2 separate regions of the Homo sapiens genome follow, and region 2 is linked to region 1. Evidence: promoter capture Hi-C in human tissues and cell types (Jung and others, 2019). All regions are on one chromosome and are shown on one strand. Each heading gives the region's core, a stretch centred on a gene start or on the middle of the fragment in contact. The rest is flanking DNA. Distances are from core to core; before and after follow the strand shown. Region 1 holds the start of RGSL1 (regulator of G protein signaling like 1). Region 2 overlaps RGSL1 (regulator of G protein signaling like 1).

The links. Contacts are between HindIII fragments. The study calls those that stand out against the background at their distance.
Region 2: a contact is called between a fragment that was not itself captured here and the fragment with the promoter of RGSL1 in region 1, in 1 of the 25 tissues and cell types used here (H1 embryonic stem cells).

The regions. Positions count from the first base shown.
Region 1 is chr1:182,445,832-182,452,986 of GRCh38, reverse strand. It overlaps RGSL1 (regulator of G protein signaling like 1), which reads right to left and starts at 2,841. Exons shown (of 22, transcript NM_001137669.2): 1 at 2,809-2,841. The coding sequence starts at 2,821. RefSeq lists an enhancer at 2,396-3,003. The HindIII fragment of the contact is 7,176 bases long and covers 1-6,232 here.
Region 2 is chr1:182,489,221-182,496,375 of GRCh38, reverse strand. RGSL1 (regulator of G protein signaling like 1) reads right to left here. Exons shown (of 22, transcript NM_001137669.2): 9 at 3,247-3,354. Among named protein-coding and RNA genes, the nearest start is that of RGSL1, 43 kb to the right of the region's middle. The HindIII fragment of the contact is 9,571 bases long and covers 721-7,155 here.

The sequences.
Region 1 (7,155 bases), core at 1,592-4,091:
ATCAATGGCCCACCATCACTCAGTCATACCCAAAGTTCATAATGAAAGACTGAAAAATGGGTCCGAATACTATGCCCTAAGCTCATCTCTCAACCTAAGCATCTGATGAGGACAGTAAGTGCCATGCACAGTCACAAACATGTAGTTATGATATAAGAAAACTAAACAATCATTTTTCCTGATGACACTGGTGGTTGTTGGCTTCATATATTAGAAATAGAATTAGAAACTCCTGGCCAGGCATGGTGGCTCATGCCTATAATCCCAACACTTTGGGAGGCTGAGGCTGGTGGATTGCTTGAGGCCAGGAGCTCAAGACCAGGCTGACCAACATGATGAAACCCTGTCTCTACTAAAAATACAAAAATTAGCCAGGCATAGTGGCGGGAGCCTGTAATCCCAACTACTTGGGAGGCTGAGGCAGGAGAATCGCTTGAAGCCAGGAGGTGGAGGTTGCAGTGAGCCGAGATCGCACCACTGCACTCCAGCCTGAGTGACAGAGTGAGACTCTGTCTCAAAAAAAAAAAAAAGGAAACCCAGATAAACACTATTGTGAGTGACAGAGCTGGTATCAGCACTTGCCCTCTGTTCACATACATCTTTTTTCTTGCTGTCAAGTGCTATGTGTGTTTTATGTGTACCCCTCCCAAGCCCTCTGCTCTTCTTTTTATAAGCAGTCCTTGATTTATTTAATCTATTCCATATGGGTGATTCCAAAATCTGTGTTTTCAGTCCAGGCTTCTCTCCTTCACTCTGGTTTTAAATATACATGAGCTATGGGCCAGCTCTACATGCATATCCATCAGGCACTTTCATCTCAACATGTTCAATGTGTCCAGGCCTCCCAACCTGCTCCTTTTCCTACATTCCCAGTCCCAGTTACTGGAATTATCATTCAATAAATTATCTAATCCTGAAAACTGAGGCTCTTCTCTCTGTCTCTGTCCCTGTCTCTCACTCTCACTCTCACTCTCAATCTCTCTTACTCTTGCTCTTACTCTCTTGTTCTCTCTCTCTCCCCTCCATGTCCCTACATGCAATGGGGGATCATGCTGTATGGTTTCTCTTTGTACCTATCTCTGGAATCTGTCTTCTCCTTTCCATCCATAAAGTTACTCTTCCATTACAGGCCTCTATGCTCTCTCACCTAGACTTCTGCATCAGCTTCTTAAATGGTCTCCCTAGCTCCCACCTCTTGCCCTTCCAACCACCCTACACGTACTGCCACCATAATCTGTTGATATTATTATTGTTAAAGTCTTTCAAAATCTCCTTGATGTCCTAGAAGGTAAAGTCCAAACTCTCTAGTATAGTATCTGAGGCTTTACCCCATCTGGCTTTTGAGTTTCCTCCCAGTCTCATTTCCTGCCTCTCTGCGCACTCTGCCTCCTGTTTGCAAGCTAAGCCAAGGCATTGCTGTTTCCTGCATGTGCTAGGTACTCTCACTTGAAACCTCCATGTCTTTGTTCCCATATTCCCATTGCTTCAAATGTTTTCTTAAGCACAGTCAGCTCACAAATTAATAGTCATCCATTAAGAACTGGTTTACATATAATCTTGGTGAGCCAAGAAAGGTAGAATCTACTGCAATGGTAGAATTCATCACTATCTCCCTATACCATCACGTATATCCTCCATTATTACAATTAACAAGTCTGACTGTTTTTATCCATCGATATATCTGTCTTCCTCATCAGACTGAGCGTGTGAGAGGAGGGACTTTGTTTTTTCACCTTTCTTCCTCTAGGCTCTAAAAGTGTTTGCACAATGTCTAAGTTCTGTAAATGTGGAATAAATTGTTCTTTCAAAAGATAATCTTCAATCTTTTTTTTTTTTTTTTTTTGCCAAAGTCTCACTCCGTCACCCAGGCTGGAATGCAGTGGCAAGATCTCAACTCACTGCAGACTCTGCCTCCCAGATTCAAGTGATTCTTGTGTCTCAACCTCTCCAGTAGCTGGGATTACAGTGCATGCCACCACACCTGGCTAATTTCTGTATTTTCAGTAGAGATGGGGTTTTACCATGTTGGCCAGGCTGGTCTTGAACTCCTGACCTCAGGTAATCCACCTGCCTCAGCCTCCCAAAGTACTAGGATTACAAGGGTGAGCCAACGCTCCCAGCCAATGATTTTCAATCTTTTGGACTTTTGTTTGTTTATCATTCATAGAGTCTAACATGGATTTGTTGAATGAGTATATTACTGAGCCCATCTGAATACAGAAAAGTGGGGTTTGGCAGAAATTCCCTAGTGATTGTTGTTCACAGCTACACACACCGCTGGTGGCAAGGGGCCTGACTATGCTAGGGCTTGCCATTGCCAAAACAGTCTTAAGGAGATATAGAGACAAGGCTCTGTACATCCTTCCCTTCCTCATCCTCTCATTTCTCCATTCTTGTTTTTCCTTCTTACCTGTTCTGCCTTCAAACTTCCTAATAATTTGAGAAGGCTTTTAGCACCCATTCCACGCCATAATAATATTGACTTGGCAACAAATGAAATCACTGCATAATCTCAAACCCCATACCAGTCTTCTCTCTGGAGGAGAGGTGGCCCAATCCACATTTTACTTCCTCCCTCTTGCCTTAGTTGTCTTATGAATAAGGCCCTGTACTATCCTCAAAGATCTGGTGGCAGAAGGTAGGAGGAAGGGGAAGAAGGAGAAAGAGAAGGAAAACAAAGGCATGAATAACACAAAAGTCACCCATGGTGCCCCTGAATGGCTCAGATCTATTAACAATTGGGAAGATGAATGGTTTGCCTTATTTGAGAGACTCAAGGCCTTGGAGACATCCCTGGCAGAGACTCACCAGCACTGCTCATGTTGCCATGCTCTTCCTGACACAGTAATTTGTTAGGGGCAGAATTACCCCCCAGTCAATAGAACTATATCCATTGTGAACACGTAATGACACCTTCTCTAAGGGGTTCCAGATTCTATCTGGCAGTGATCTACTTACCTCTGGTGTAGGCCTTAATCTGAAGATAAGTCTTTATCTTACCTAATCTGCTGAATCCCCTTGGACATACAAGACTCCTCCTATACTTAAGCCTTTAGTTCATACTATTTTATTTGACAAGTTCTTTATAATTGTGCCCAAGATCTCTTGTCTGCTCCAACCTCTCCCATGCTAGGGTGACTTTTGCATTGCTAAACTCAGCTCCTAAGGGTCTTGTAAACGGTTACATTTGATGTAATTTTAATAAGCAGTAACTCCTGGATATTCTGCCCATTTAAAACATCAACCTCCATTGCTTCAGCCCAGGAATTCAAGGCTGCTGTGAGCTGTGATCACACCACTGAACTTCAGCTTGGGCAACAGAGTGAAACCTCATCTTTAAAAAATTAAAATTAAAACATCAGCTTCCAAGAGGTTTGAACTCCCTTCCTCTGAAGACTCTTCAGGCTCTTGGTTTTCTCATTAAACAACTCTTCATTTCTCCTGTTCTTCCCTAATAGGAAGTAAATATTAAGATGAGAGACCAAAAGCCCTATAATCCTTCAAACTTTAGCCAAGAATTACTGAGAATAGAATTCTTCAGTGTCACACCCAGAGAGGGCTTTTAAGTCTTGGGATTGTAGGGAAGCTTATATAATGTCCAAAAGGCTTTCCTATGGGGGGTGGAGGGAAAACTGAAAACTGGAAGGATTATTGTTAATAATGAATCGTCAATACAATATCACTTACATTTGAAAAAGTGCTGTACTTTCTTTAGAATATATAAAGACCAAATACTGCATTTTAAAGTGATTTTAGTGAGAAGAGATTCTTGCTTTACATCTTGATGTTCTATGTATTGCAAGATGAGATTGTAGCTTACCATACTTCTTCAATCTGTTATCAATTACCTTATTCACCTTATTAATTAGTCAGTTTAACATGCACACATCTTAAGAGAGTTCAGTGTGAAGCACTGCATGATTCTACAATATCATATTATTCCTTGAATTATCACCTCTTTTGCAAAATAAATAGAGTCAAGGTCTCCTCCTAAAATAATGGCATATACAGTAGTAATATATGCTCACATTCCTTAAGATGGAATGCTTTCAGACTGTTTTCAATCAAGCTGTGTGCACCTACCCTTGAGTCCTAATTGCTGCCCCACCGTCTTTCCCACAGTTCAAAAAGGCTGACTGTTGGAGCCATTAACAACCAAATAGGGTCACTCTAAAAACAGTAAAGATGAAAAGCCAGTATCACTGGCTAAATCTTGAAATGCATAATGGTTAGATCCCTGACCCTTTCATGACCTTCTAGTTCCCAAAAGAAAAGGGCACCAGATGTCTCCCAAATGTGTGGTAATAAGAATTACCTTATTGACAGGGTTGTTGTTAAAAACCTAAATTGCCGGGACCGTCCCCTGGCAATTCTGATTTAGAAGGGGTGGGGCTCAGGAGTCTGTATATTTTCCAAGTGCCCCCAGATAATTATTATCATCAGGTAAATATAGAAAATATTGGGGCCAGATGCAGTGGCTCACGTCTGTAATCCCAGCACTTTGGGAGGCCAAGGTGGGTGGATCACTTGAGGACAGGAGTTAGAGACCAGACTGGCCAACATGGGGAAACCCCTTCTCTACTAAAAATACAAAAAAATTATCCAGATGTGGTGTTGCGCACCTGTAATCCCAGCTACTCAGAAGTCTGAGGCACAAGAATTGCTTGAATCTGGGAGGCAGATTTTGCAGTGAGCTGAGATCGTGCCATTCCACCCCAGCCCGGGCAACAGAATGAGACTCTGTCTCAAAAACAAACAAACAAACAAACAAACAAACAAACAAACAAATAAATTGGTTTCTAAATGAAATAGAGCTGCATTCACATCTCAGATCTGACATTTACTAGATCTGATCTGGTTTGCAAAACTCTGGGCATCTCCTTTTCCCAAGTGCACAGTTACCCTGGAAATGACAGCAGGTCTCTTTGGCAAAGATTAAGAAGAATATTCACCGTAAATACTTGCAAAATATTACAAGATTCTTCCTAACTGGTAAAATGCTTTTTTTTTTTTTTTTAAATTTCAGAGCTTCTAGGTCTGACTCAGGGCTGAAAATTGGATGAGGGACCTGATTTTCTACCATGATGGCTCATTTTAGGCTCCTGTTCATTCACTCAACAAATATTTATTGGGCAGGTCTATGTGACACAAACTGTTCTAGGTGTTTGTGATGCAACACTGAATAAACAGTCTAAAATCCTTGCCATCACAGAGCTTATACTTTCCAGTAGAATCTTATTGAATGAACACACATTTTTTAAGGACCCCATGATCAATAACCACTATAAAGAATCTGTGGGTTAGATCATTCAGATATCCACACAGGCTCAACTGCCTATTATGATAACTACGCTTATTTTGTTTTTGATGGTTAACACGACCTCCAGTAGAAATAAGAACCAATTTCAACTACAACACATCTTTTTCAGCATTTGTGGTTGTCCCCATTGTGCCACTACTGCTAGCACCACCGCTATTGAGTGTTTGTTGTCATAGGCACTGCCATGCATAACCTCTCATTGCTCCTGAGCTTCTGAGTCTTCCTTCAAGATGAAAAGTTTTGGGCTGGTCATGGTAACTCATGCCTGTAATCCCAGCATTTTGGGAGGCTGTGGCAGGTGGATCGCTTGAGTCCAGGAGTTTGAGACCAGCCTGGGCAACATAGTAAGACCCTACCTCTATTAAAAAATGATTTTTAAAATTAAATGTGTATATATTCTATATTTAATTATATATCATATATTTAATTTTAAAGATTAAATGTATATATCATATATTTAATTTTAAAGATTAAATGTATATATCATATATTTAATTTTAAAGATTAAATGTATATATCATATATTTAATTTTAAAGATTAAATGTATATATCATATATTTAATTTTAAAGATTAAATGTATATATCATATATTTAATTTTAAAGATTAAATGTATATATCATATATTTAATTTTAAAGATTAAATGTATATATCACATATTTAATTTAAAAAATAAATGTATATATCATATATTTAATTTTAAAAATTAAATGTATATATCATATATTTAATTTTAAAAATTAAATGTATATGTCATATATATCATATATTTAATTTTAAAAATTAAATGTATATGTCATATATATCATATATTTAATTTTAAAAATTAAATGTATATGTCATATATATATTTAATTTTAAAAATTAAATGTATATGACATATATATCATATATTTAATTTTAAAAATTAAATGTACATATCATATTTAAATTTTAAAAGTGAATGTATATATCTATATTTAATTTTAAAATTGAATATGCATTATATATAATTAAATATAAATTTATAAATATAAATATATATACATAAAAGTTCTGGGTGGAGGATCTGATTGCTGAGTCCAGGACAGGATATCCATGTCCTTACTGCCAGGGCCAGGAGAGAGACTGTCTGGTCCCCTCTGGCATCCATAGTGGGAGACAGTCCCTCCAAGACTCACACAATAAATTTTCACTCTAAATAAAAAAGAAGGTCAGAGAGTGAGTGACCAAAAGGTTTTTGAGATACACACACATATCTCTATGTTAACTGGATTCTGTGCTTAGTCATATGCATCTAACTTTAACAGGAAGAAGAACTACATCATGTTTACTGGGTGCTTGGACAATACTTGCTTATATACTTTTCCTGCTCTTCTCTCTATCCCTCTGTCACTTCGTTTAAATGGGTCATTCAATACCAAATGGAGAGTAAGTGCCCTTTCCAGGCTCATGTAAATATGGTGCCCTCTGGTGCACGGTGTTGAACATTACACTTTTCTTTTCAAAACTCCACTCTGTAATTTGAAGGTTTTGTTTCTGTTTTTCCCCAAACATAATCTTCAGTTCGTTTTACTTTCCAAAGTAATTAGGATCACTGTCAGAGTGCTCACACCTGCTGTGACATGAGAAGTACAGAAAGGCCCTTGTCATCCGAATAGTAGGTCTGCCTATTCCACCATCGTATCTGGCCTTAACTATAATCCTCTGTGGCTTTGTAGGCGCCTGTTAATATTATTTTACCTGGAAGATACAGTTGTGAGATATAATATTTGGAGGCAATCATTTACTACAAGAGATGAATTTATTAGTGTCAGGCTTCTGAGCCCAAGCTAAGCCATCATATCCCCTGTGA
Region 2 (7,155 bases), core at 4,257-6,756, 41 kb before region 1:
TGGATCTGTGTCTCTGCCCAAATCTCATGCTGAAATGTAATCTCCAATGTTGGAGGTGGGGCCTGGTGGGAGGTTATTAGCTCATGGGGTGGTTTCTTATGAATGGATTATCACCATCCCCTTGGTACTGTCCTCACCATCATGAGTGAGTTCTCATGATATCTTATTGGTTAAGTGTGTAGCACCTCCCCGTTTCTTCCTTTGGCTCCAACCACGAGAAGTTCTGGCTCCCCCTTCACCTTCTGTCATGACTGTAAATTTTCTGAGGCCTCCCCAGAAGCCAAGCAGATGCCAGCATTATGCTTCCTGTATAGCCTGTGGAACCATGAGCCAAATTAAATATCTTTTCTTTATAAATTACCCAACCTCAGGTATTTCTTTATAGCAGTGTGATAATAGATTACTATACTGTCATAAACTGGGTTACTCAAGATCACCCAGTCATAGGTGGCTCAACAGTAATTCATCATAAAATGTAAATGGTACATGTGGAATCAGGCATGAGGCAGGTCAGAAGGTACAAGAAACTACCTAAGCAGGTGACCCAGACACCCATGTCATTACCACTGTGGCACTGCCACTTCACTGTCATCACATCTATGGCTGGTCACATTGATGACCAGCTGACAGAAGAGGAAAAAAGCTGAACCTGTTTCATGAATGGACCATCTCAATATCTTGGTGAAAATAAACAGCTGAAGCCCTCTATCAGTGGTGATCCTGAAAGATGATGGGGAGAGAAAAATCCCCTGCAACGCCATAAGCAGAACTTTGGCGGCGAACCTGTGCATTCGTTTGTGTGGAAAGAGAAGTAGCCCAGGATAAGAATATATACATACTCATGGGCAGTGATGAATGGTTTGGCTGGTAAGCCAGGGGCTTAGAAGGAGAAAGATTAGAATACTGGGGACAAAATGGTCTGAGAATATACACATGTGGATGGATCTATGAGAAAAAACATGACATGTGGAGATCTTTGTATTGCATCTTAAAGCCCTCCAAAAAACAACTACCATGAAAGAGGCACTAAACAACCAAGCAGACAGAATGACACTCTGCCAGTTGATGCCAGCAAGTCTCTGTCATAAGCCACTGTAGTGCTGGCACAGTGAGCTCATGGACAGAGTTCTAGGTGGCAGGGATGGAGGCTATGTACAGACCAACAGCATGTGCCCCATGTTTGAGTGCCAAACACTCAAGTTGCTGGCAACAGAAACAAATGCAGAGCCCCCAGTACCCAGTATAGTAACATCCCTAATAAAAGCCAGCCACTTAGTGACAAACTGATTACACTGAACACCTTCTATTCTGGAAAGAGCAGCAATTCATTTTGACTGGAACTGATATGTATCTTAGCTGCAAGGTCTCAGACAGCATCACCACCTCGGGGCTTATAAGTGATTGATCCCTCAATGGGATCTCACATAACATTGCCTCTGACCAAGGGATACACTTTATAGCAAAGAAGGTGTGGCAATGGCCAATGGGTCCCACGAAGATGAGATCTACTAGTTCTATTTCCTTTGAGAGCTGCTGGCTTGATGAAGTGATGGAGCCACTTTTTGAAGGCACAGCTGTGAAAGCAGCTTGAAGCTACCAGAATGCTAGGGGAGAATGACGATACCTCAGGAAAATGAGGCATCATCTTCCAGGATAATTCAAAGACCATTATAAGGTGTGTCTTCAGTAGTAGAATAAATGGGCCCAGGTACCAATGAATGAAAGAAGTGTTCCATTTACCATCAGTATCAGAGACTTACTTAGGGAAATTTGTCATCTTTATACCTTTAGGTTCTGTAGGTCTAGACCAGTGCTGTCCAATAAAAATATAATGTGAGCCACGTATATAATTTAAAATTTTCTAGTAGTCACATTGAAAAAGCTAAAAAGAAAAGGGTGAAATTAATTTTAACAATGTGTTTTATTTACCCACATGTACCAGTCACATTTCAAGTGCTCAGTGGCCACATGGGGCTAGTGGCTCCTGTAATGGACAGTGCCAGTCTAGAGATCTTAGTTCCTGGAGGCAGAATGCTTCTACTAGAGGAAATAGTAGCTGTTCAATCGCATTAAGCTCCTTATGCCAAGAAGTCAGCAGGCAAGCAAAGGAGTCACTGTACTGATAGGGTAATTGATCCTAATCATTAAGATCATGTTACATAGCAGATACTGGACAATTCACTTGCCACTCTTGGTATTCCCTGGCCCAATTTGTATGATAGGTTGACAAGTGAAGCAGCCACAGCCTGAGAAGTCGTGATGACCGGGGGCTCAGGTATCCCAGAGATGAGAGTCTAGTAAGACCCCAAGACCAGCAGAGGTGCTAGCTGAGCATGAGAGGAATCTAGGATGGGGAGCAGGAGAGGAAGAAGAGGAATATTAGCAATGGTCTTCAGATAAGGTAGAGTAATGTGAGCCTGCCTTTCTCAAATACGTTTCCCAGGACAAGAAACTATCAGATTCCTGGAGGAGCTACTCCAAGATGAGGTGAAATTTCTATACAAAGCAAATGGACAGTAGTGGGTGGTACTGGGTACTACCCAGAACCTCCCTTCAGGGCCAAAGCACTCATTCCCCTAGATGCCTGAGTGTTGGCTGCTGATGGCCCAGAGAGGAGGCCCCTTCTGGAAGTTGCTTCAGCCAAAGGAAACTGCCTGGCTATAAACCCTAGGTTATATCCTTCACAGGGGCATTCACATCTCCCGTGGATCAATGTGGAAGAACTAAAGCCCAAATTAAATTTCTTACCTCACTGAGGGACAACTCTGAAGGGCCACCCTGGCATCAGAGTTTCTTATGGCATCTGCTGAGGCCTGTTGTGATTGCTTCACAGTTCAGCATCTACCTCTCCCCAATCCTGCCTTCCTCACTCTCTTAGAGGTATTATTCCCAAGAGCACTCCTTAACAAACATCCCTTCACAAATCTCAGCCTCCAGGTAACTTGACAGAAGAAGAATTCACATTAATTAAAACCCCAGAGTGATAACTAGATAAGAAAGTAGAAATGAACAATCTTAACCATCATCACTTCATTCATTTATGATTACATCTTATTTTCATGATGCTCTTCTGTGGTTTCGTAGGAGAAAAAAGACATAGTCATTACCCCCTAACCACCTCTCCATTTCCAACAGAGCATGGTTCCTCTTTTGGCTTATGTTCCTTAAAGAACACAAGATTACAGATTTTCTCTTAGATTTGAAAAAACCTAGTTGCCTCGTCTATCCCTGATTTTAAACACTTGCCTATTTTAGGTGCTTTCTCACAGTATATTTTGTAGTCATCACTGATCTTCTGTATGGCCATCTTTGGGTTCTTGTAGCAAAGCTCCTCAAAGGACATTTTAGTTATGTCTGTGAAGTAAGGAAAAACAGAGATAGAGTTTAGTTGTCCAAAGTCTGGGTTCAAAGATTCATATACTTTTGTTGAAGGTATTGCCTTTAAAATGCTGGGCGCAGTGGCTCACGTTTGTAATCCCAGCACTTTGGGAGGCTGAGATGGGTGGATCACAAAGTCAGGAGATTGAGACCATCCTGACTAACATGGTGAAACCCTGTCTCTACTAAAAATACAAAAAAATTAGCCGGGTATGGTGGCGGGCGCCTGTGGTCCCAGCTACTTGGGAGGCTGAGGCAGGAGAATGGTGTGAACCTGGGAGGCGGAGCTTGTAGTGAGCCGAGATTGGGCCACTGCACTCCATCCAGCCTGGGCCACAGAGGGAGAATCCATCTCAAAAAAAAAAAAAAGGTTATTTAAAGAGGCCAATAGTGTTTTAATGGGATGTTTACAGAAATAATACAAGTTCCCTAAGCTAAATTATAGGCAAGGAAATAAGCCTCCTCTTCCCTCCAGAATGAGAAGATCCTCTCCTTCTTAGGGAAAACTGACCCATGGAGATTATTTGCCTGAGGGTTGCTAGGGTAACCAAGATATGACTTGAAAGAGCTACTATTTTTTAATTCATATATGAGAAGTAACTCATACAAATGAATGGTGACTCCTTCAAAGCATCCATCTGTTGAGGGATTGAGTAGCAAATGTATGTGTTCTTTTGCAGAGACGGGTTTTTGCCATGTTGCCCAGGCTGGTCTTGAACTCCTAGATTCTAGCGATACTCCCGCCTTGGCCTCCCGAAGTGCGGGCATGAGACCACAACTACAAATGCATTTCAAACATTCTACTATTGCTTCAAAAAAAATTGAAGCCCCTAAGAATAACAAATGGCAAAGAACATGCTATGCTATGTTTTCCCTTTCTCAGCTCTGACTTTGGGAATTACTTTCAGAATTAACTTACCTATCTGAATATTATCAATAGTTGCAAATCATTGTCCTTTGGAGTGGATTTTTTTTCTAGAAAGAGCCATATATCATCTTAAGTTATGCATGATGAATTGAGAGGGAATACCTTTTTGTATCCAAAATGTGGTGAGACAATGAGGCTGAGATAGCAAGAGATGTTTTAACAATGATCTGGTTAACAGAAGCAGAATAGTAGCACCTTACTTCCTACGGAGGAGAAGTATTCATTTGGGTTGTGAGTTCTGGGATTTAGAGTATATCTAAATGCACAGAGTTCTCCTGGAACTCTCTAGGCAGTTCAGTACTTTCTGAAGCTATACTATTTGAGTCTATAAAGAGTACTGGGGTGTGGACCTGTGAATGTGAGTCATCATCATCATCATCATCACCATGATGTGTAATCAAGGAGAATCTTGACCAAAAGTGTTAAGAGCAGTGGGTTATTTCTGCAGTGGGTCCAGGTTTCTAGTCCTGTATCAATTCCTTCCTTGCTGAGCAACCTTGGGCAAGTCTTTTCACCATTCTGGAAGTCATGTTTCCCTGTATAAAAGATGATAGTGGTCGGGTGTGGTGGCTCACACCTGTAATCCCAGCACTTTGGGAGGCTGAGACAGGCGGATCACTTGAGGTCAGGAGCTCGAGACCAGCCTGGCCAACATAGTGAAACCCTGTCTCTAATAAAATACAAAAATTAGCAGGGCATGGTGGCGGGTGCCTGTAATCCCAGCTACTCTGGAGGCTGAGGCAGGAGAATTGCATGAACCTGGGAGGTGGAGGTTGCAGTGAGTCAAGACAGTGCCACTGCACTCCAGCCTGGGAGACAAAGCGAGACTCCATCTCAAATAATAATAATAATAATTACAGTTTTTTAAAAGTACCATACGTAGGCTAGGCATGGTCACTCACACCTTTAATCCCAGCATTTTGGGAAGCCAAGACAGGAGGATGGCTTCAGCCCAGGAGTTCAAGCCTAGCCTGGGCAACATGGCAAGACCCATCTCTACAAAAAAAAAAAATTAGCTGGGTGTGGTGGTGCATGCCTGTAGTCCCACCAACTTAGGAGGCTGAGGTGGGAGCTTCGCTTGAGTCTGGGAAGTCATGGCTGCAGTGAGCTGTGATTGTTCCACCACACTCCATCTCAAAAAAAAAAAAAAAAAAGATAATGTTCTAGCTCTGGTACTCTGTGAGTTTAGGGTACAGCTTGAGACACCAACCTACCTGAGATTCAAGGCTCTGATTTGGCCAAATGCAAAGAAGGCCCTTTATTAGGCCAGACTTGTGCTCCAAAAAAGCAGTGATAGAGGAAGTAATGATATGTGCTTTGGAGAGGGACAAGGAGCTTCCATGGAGGGTGGTTCACATTCTTACTGGCTATCCCTTGTGTCCCATAGCCACCAAAGTAACGCCTATTGCCCAACATATGTGTGGTGAAACTTACCAGCCATCTTTTCATCTACTTTGGTCTTGATTCCTGGGAAAGAATCTAAGATCCTCAGGATTTAGAGAGAGAGTGGAATCTCTATGGTTAAAAAAGAGGGCCTGTTCATGCTAGATTTAAATAACTTATGCCCAAACATGGCTCTGACAGACAGGCATCCAGGGCATCTTGGTTTGTATACAGAGTGCATATTAAAGTTTTAAAAAAGAGCCGGATGTTACATTCTTTTGGTAATCTAACAAGTACCATTTACTTAGCACCTGCTTACTATGTAAATACATTACCTCTAATCCTGAACAAATTAGGGGCCATTATCTCCACTAAATAGATGAAGAAATTAGGTTCAGAGAGAAGGAGTAACTTGCCCAAGCTCACAGTGCATATGAATGGTATAACTGAATTTTCAAAGCTTTTGCTCACTCTTTATCCATGTTTTTCAAAGTGTAGGTCATGACTCACTAGTATGCCAAAAAATAAATGGTGACATTGTTAGCTTTTATATGACATGAAACATAATAGAATAAAGAATGCTGGAGTACAGCATCTTATGTAATAAGGGCAAGTATTGCTTTGGAAATTTTTTTTCATATATATGTGCACACATATACACAGGTATATATTTAAGGAATTATGAAGTCAAACGTATTTATTGTGGATCAAAGTTTGAGAAATATGCAGTATTCCAACTGCCTCAACATAGATAATTAAAGCACTATGCTCAATTTGAATAATAATGACTAACATTTACAGTATTGAACTCTTAAGTGATTGTCAAACATTGTACTAATAGCTTTCATAGATGATCTCAGGTCACCTGCACAAGTTTGTTATTATTCCCATTTTACAGATGAGAAAACTGGGGCTCAAAGAGAAGTTAAATACATTGCTCAAGCATACAAGTGAATAGGAGAGCACGGGTGTAACCCCAGACTTCTGGGACAGCAAAGCCTTTTGCTCCTAACGATGTCTCTCCACTGCCTGGGTGGGCTGGTGTGTTATGTTAGGGAAGCGGGTGACTGTAAAATATGTTCACAGAAATGCGCTTGGACCCTATTCTGGAGGAAATGTGGTGAGGTGGAACATGCTTATTAGATGCATGAAATGAAGTATTCAGCATCAACTATGGTGATGCTTTGGTGGGCCAGAGTCTAGCTACACTTGAGCACTCTGGCTCCCTCAGATCCAGCAGGGAGCTCTACAGTCAGTCTGTCTGGATTCAAATCCTGACTGCAACTTACTCTGACCCTGGGGAGGTCACATCCTCTCTGTGCCTCAGTTACTTAGTACTTACCTCTTAGGCTGTTTTGATGACCAAATTAGGTAATCCCTGCACTGCATAGTGCTGACGCTTAGTAAATAATTAGTAAATGTTAAATATTATTTTCCAGTTGCCCATATGTAAAGGTCAAAAAAAT